Linked DNA regions of Homo sapiens: region 2 is linked to region 1. The links are contacts of gene promoters, found by promoter capture Hi-C in blood cells and fetal thymus (Javierre and others, 2016). All regions are on one chromosome and are shown on one strand. The core of a region is centred on a gene start or on the middle of the fragment in contact, and the rest is flanking DNA. Distances in the headings are between cores, read along the strand shown.

Evidence for each region. The method cuts DNA at HindIII sites, captures the fragments that hold promoters and counts their contacts. A CHiCAGO score of 5 or more calls a contact.
Region 2: a contact is called between a fragment that was not itself captured here and the fragment with the promoter of DDX28 in region 1, in 1 of 17 cell types (naive B cells). The highest score is 5.5, in naive B cells.

The regions. Positions count from the first base shown.
Region 1 is chr16:68,021,830-68,024,607 of GRCh38, forward strand. DDX28 (DEAD-box helicase 28) reads right to left here and starts at 1,403. Exons shown (of 1, transcript NM_018380.4): 1 at 1-1,403. The coding sequence starts at 1,373. It overlaps DUS2 (dihydrouridine synthase 2), which reads left to right and starts at 1,455. Exons shown (of 17, transcript NM_017803.5): 1 at 1,455-1,522. RefSeq lists enhancers at 104-854, 855-1,605, 1,316-1,555. The HindIII fragment of the contact is 5,621 bases long and covers 488-2,778 here.
Region 2 is chr16:67,482,653-67,485,430 of GRCh38, forward strand. It overlaps AGRP (agouti related neuropeptide), which reads right to left and starts at 895. Exons shown (of 4, transcript NM_001138.2): 1 at 865-895; 2 at 617-749; 3 at 373-458; 4 at 1-166. The coding sequence starts at 746. It overlaps ATP6V0D1-DT (ATP6V0D1 divergent transcript), which reads left to right. Exons shown (of 4, transcript NR_184227.1): 2 at 1,458-1,676. The HindIII fragment of the contact is 370 bases long and covers 1,208-1,577 here.

The DNA.
Region 1 (2,778 bases), core at 153-2,652:
GAGGCTATGTCTGTGCAGAGAAGTATGTCTCGGGAGCTCTTCTGGAAGGACTGGAAGATTCCTACCCTCATCAAGGCTGGCATTTGCCCCTGCAACCTTAGGTGTTGGATTTTGTGGTCATCCAGAATATATCCCAGCCAGTTCACAGTGCTGGAGCTATTACAGAACACCAGAACAGTTCCTGAGGGACCAGTCCTTTCTGCTCTGTCACGATGCTTGAGGATGTGCACCAGCTCGGCCACCTTATCTGCTCCCTTCAGTCTCAGAAATGTCTGTTTCACATGAGGCATGATACAGTGGAGCTTGGAGCTGGTGATGGTGGTGACAGCATCTGGGCTGGCGACTTTATTCAGCAACTGGCCTACACCTTCGGGAAATGTGGCTCCTACCAGCACTAACTGAGCTTTGGGATTGAAGGGGTCTTCCAAGTCAGCTGGGCCTTCTGCTATGTGGCTCTTCTCTAAGATGTAGTCCACCAGTTCCAGGAAGCTTTCATCCAGCAGTGTGTCTGCCTCATCCAACACCAAGAAGGAGAGTTGCTCCAGACTGATCAGTCGACTTTTCAGGGCCTTCCACAGAGCCCCTGGAGTGGCCACAAGCACATCTGCTGAAGGCTGTCTGGACAGCTGCAGCCTGATCCTACGCATGCCGTGGCCTCCCTCCAGGTCCCGCACCAGCAGGCCCAAGGAGCGGCCCAAGGGTTGGGCCACAGCCCGCACCTGTTGGGCCAATTCTCGGGAAGGAACAAGGACCAGGCCTCGGGGCGCGGGGATAGGAAGGGAGTCCAGGCTTGGCTGGCCCAAGAGCCGTTGAAGCAGCGGCAGGAGGTAGCTGAGAGTCTTGCCACTGCCGGTTTCTGCGGCGCAAACGACATGGCGGCCGCGAAGTAGTGAGGGGATGGTGCTAGACTGCACGGTTGTGGGCTGAACGACTTCAGGCGCAGCCTCCTGTAGTGCGTGCAGCACACGGGGCTCCAGGCCCAGGTCAGCAAAGCTGCCCTTAGACGAGAGCTTTCGCACCGCTGGCGCCTCCTGTTGCGCGCGCTCGATGGAGAAGTGGTCCCGACGCGCGCGTCGACTCTTCCAGCCTTGAGAGGCTAGCGGCGCGCGCTCCCAACGGCCCAGTGTGAGGCGCGCCGGCTGGTTCAACTCCGGCCGCCGCGCCGAAACCAGCAGCGGTCCGGGTCGAACCAGCACCGGCCTCGGGAGGTTCCGCCGCCTGCTCTGCCGCTGTTCCAACTGCCGCTGTAGAGCCACTGGGATGCGCACCACCGGCAGGGGTTCGTCGGGACTGCGGACCGTGAGGCCCCGTCGCGGCGCCAGGAGCAACCGAGTCACGAGGGAAAAGAGCCGCACCGGCCGCGTTAGAGCCATGTTTCCCTTAGTGCGGGAGAAGCGCACATCAGTGACGTCACGGACGCGCCGCGACCTCGCGTACGGTGGCTGGCGAGGCTCAGTACGGTGTGTGGAGCTGGAGCACCGTGAGGAAGAAGCGAGGTTCTTTTTAAGAGTTCAGCTGCGAGGTCTGTAGCTCCGAATAGGGGATGGCGACATCCAGACCCGGCCAGCCTTGGGGAAGGGCGCGTCGTGGAGGCAGGACTGGAGGCTGGCGATACGAGGCGGCAGTGGGGCCTTGACCCAATGGACCATGAGGGCGGAGGGCTTCTGGCGATTGGTTACCTGGTTCCTGGGATTCTCTTTAGTTGTTCCTCATTGCCCTGAGATAGCTTGTCCCGTGCTGGTATCCGAGGTTGCAGCTGTTTTCCCAGATGTGTTCCCTGCGCAGGGTCTGGTAATCCGTGTTTATTGAGAGTTTGAATGAATGATCAGGCCTAGGGGCCGAGACAGGGGTCTGAAGTCATAGATCTGGGCTCAACCCCTCACCCTCTCTGTCTGTGAGCCCAGAGTGCAAGCTGATGGCTTTCAGCTTCTTCTCTCTCTCAAGTGGGAGATAAGGTCTTCAGGTTTTATTTCAAGTTGGGTCATCTTTTCTTCACAGTTATTTTCCTTCCTTTTAAGCCAAGGTTCACTCTCTACTCCCTCGTCACGCGTCCCAACTTCTCATCCAGAACCCACCCCTCTTGCAGCCCGCTCAGCTCCACTGGCTTCCCCGTCAGAAACCTGAATTACCTAAAATAGTAGTAAGAAGGGTGCTGCGACCCTACAAAGTGATCAAGTACGTGGCTTATCATGTAGCCCTGGTCAGGCAGAATATTTTACCTGAATTCAGATATTCGGGTTGTAAAAACAAGAACTATACGAGTCACTTTTTTTTTTTTTTTTTCTGAGACACAGTCTCGTTCTGTCACCCAGGCTGGAGTGCAGTGGCGCAATCTCGGCTCACTGCAACCTCCACCTCCTGGGTTCAGGTGATTCTCCTGCCTCTGCCTCCCAAGTAGCTGAGACTACAGCCGTACACCACCCACGCCCGGCTAATTTTTTCTGTTTTTAGTAGAGACAGGGTTTCACTATGTAGGCCTGGCTGGTCTCGAACTCCTGGCCTCAAGCGATCTTCCCACCTCGGCCTCCCAAAGTGATGGGATTATAAGCGTGAGCCACCATGCCCAACAGATACTTCTTGAACAGATCTGGAAAATGGGTGTCAGATCTTTTCTGTAATTTGCAGTGCCTGGGGTGGGAGATAAGGTAAATATTTATGGATTAACTCTCTGGGAGGTTCGTAACATCTGGAGAAAACGTTTTAGTTTCATCAAATACCAATGAAAAGATAAAAACTTTGCTTTTTTTGGAATAGTATGAGGAAAAACTTTCACAATTT
Region 2 (2,778 bases), core at 143-2,642, 540 kb before region 1:
GATTCATGGCAGTACCCAGCTTGCGGCAGTAGCAGAAGGCATTGAAGAAGCGGCAGTAGCACGTGGCACATGGGTCACAGCAAGGCACCTGCTGTCCCAGGCAGGACTCATGCAGCCTTACGCAGCGACGTGAGGAGCGGGGCTCGCGGTCCTGCAGGTCTAGTACCTGCAGGGGTGGGGAACCAGCACAGGCCTCTAAAGACAGATCCAGGGATCTTACCTGTCCCAACCTGTGCAGGATGGCAGTGGAGCATGGGAAGGGGTGGTCGGTAGTGTCGTCGCTGGTGAGGGAGTTTGGAGCTGGGGAGAGGAGCTAATACCCAATGCCCCCTCCCAAGGGCCACCACCTTACCCTTTTCCCTGAGCAGTTACCTCTGCCAAGGCCTGAGCCTCCTGCAACAGATCCTCTTCTGCCTGTTCTGCAGTTGTCTTCTTCAGTGGGGCCCGCAGGCCCAGGCCTGGGGCAGAGGATGTGAGGGCAGGAACCCCCATGCACAAAGCACCCACCTCCCAGGGGAGGGTTTGGGAAGGGAGAAAGAGGGTTTATGCCAGGGGAGACTATTTGTGGCCAGAGGGTATTCAGGCCCCGCCCAGTCCCACCCTTGCTCACACTGACCTGGGAGCTCTGGGAGCAGGGCCTGGTCAGGCCTTCTGATGCCCTCCATGGGGGCCAAGCCCATCTGGGCTCCTCGCGTGGCAGGCAGTGCCAGCAGCAGGGCACAGCTCAGCACCGCTGCGGTCAGCATGGCCTGGCTCAGCAGGAAGATGTACCACTTAGTCCCTCCTTATCCTTGGAGTCCCCTCTAGGTGCCCAGATAGAGACCCCACAGAGAGGAGGAGTCCCTGCCCAACCTGAGGACTCACCTCTGCCTCCGGGATTCTTGCCTAGAGAGTTCCCGGCCACCCCGTGCCCTTGGCTTATATGGCAGGGCCTAATGAAGGGCCACACGTGACTGATCCCTGCAGCCAGGCCGTGAAGGACCCTTCCTGGAGGGTGGGGGCACAGTTCAGGCCCTCACTCCCTGAACCTGAGCCTTTTGTTCTACAAGAGGAGTGCCTATCTCCAATTTGGGGTGAGGTTTCCAGGAGCCGATTAAAATTTGGGAGCAAGAGAGGGTGCCCAGGGTCCACAAATTTCCACAGGACAGGGACCTAGGAGCTGAGCAGGGCTAGAACCATTAGCAATAACAAGGCAGGCGGCCCTGAAAGCTTAATTTAATTTGTGGCCCCAGAGATGCTTACTCAACCCCTATGTGGCATGTTGTTTCCTGTGCTTCCAAGAATTCGGGTCAAGGACATTGGAGCGGGTGATGGGCCAATGGCCACTGTTGGGCAGGGGTAGGTGCAGAACCAGAACCTGGGTTTCTTTGGAGGGAAAGGGGAAGGAAAAGCCCACCTAACCAATCCTAGGCCCTCCTGACTACATTTCTGGTCCTCCCCTCCCTTTCTCCCTCCAGGTTTCTCCAAGACCGCCCACTCCTGCTCCTGTCCCCAAACCCCTTTCTGCCTAGGGTTCCTGGAAGCCAAGGAAACAGAACGAACTGTTCCCTGGGTGGGCGAGCCACTGCAGAGTACAAAGCTTTCAGGCCGCCTGCCTCATTAGCACTAATGGCTGCTCCCTTCCGCCCTGTGTCGTCAGGACTGTCTATGCCTGGTCTCATCAGCACAAGGCTGGGGTAAGGACTGCCCTTTTGTGGAGATGGCAGGACATACAGGACCCTGCTGCCCCTGCCTTCCCTCACCCCACTGCAGAGCTGTTTATCACACACGTGTCCATCTGGGAAAGGAATGCAGGCTGAATCAGCTTTGAGAGGATCGCAAGGCCCCAGTGCACAAACTGGGTTGGCACAAGGCAGTGGAAAAAAGATGAAGGGGGCCAGGTATGGTGGCTCACACCTGTAATTCCAGCATTTTGAGAGGCCAAGGTGGGAGGATCACAAGGCCAGGGGTTTAAGACCAGCCTGGGTATCATGGTGAGACCCCGTTGCTACAAAAAATAAAAAAATAGCTGGGTGTAGTGGTGCATGCCTGTAGTAGAGGCTGAGGTGGGAGGATGGCTTGAGCACAGGGATTCAAGAGTGCAGTGAGCTATGACTGCATCACCACACTCCAGGCTGAGCGACAGAGCAAGATCCTGTCTCAAAAAGAAAAGAAGATAAAGGGTGGCCAGGCACGGTGGCTCACGCCTGTAATCCCAGCATTTTGGGAGGCCAAGGTGGGCGGATCACTGGAGGTCAGGAGTTCAAACCAGCTTGGCCAATATGGTGAAACCCTATCTCTACTAAAAATACAAAAGTTATTCAGGCATGGTGGCACATGCCTGTAATCCCACCTACCCGGGAGGCTGAGGCAGGAGAATCACTTGTAACACGGGAGGCAGAGACTGCAGTGAGCAGAGATCGCACCACTGCACTCCAACCTGGGTGACAGAGTGAGACTCCATCTTAAAAAAAAAATGCTATTTAAAATGAAATGAAGCAATCCATACTCCCAACATTTATATATACTGGGACATCCAAGAAATTAAAATCACACCTCATTATGTCTTTTTCTTTGAGTCAGGGTCTCACTCTGTCACCCAGGCTGGGCCTGGTCAGCACCCATGCTATGGAGAGCTCTTCATGGTCTGGTGTGGACAGAGTGGGAGTGGAAGATCTCCTCCCACACAGGTGCTCAGTGTCTTACCTCACCTACGGGCAGCAGCTGTCTTCACCTGAGTGTGTGCACACAGGTGTATCAGCCCCATGGGCAGTGATGGACGAGGGCTGAGGCACTCAC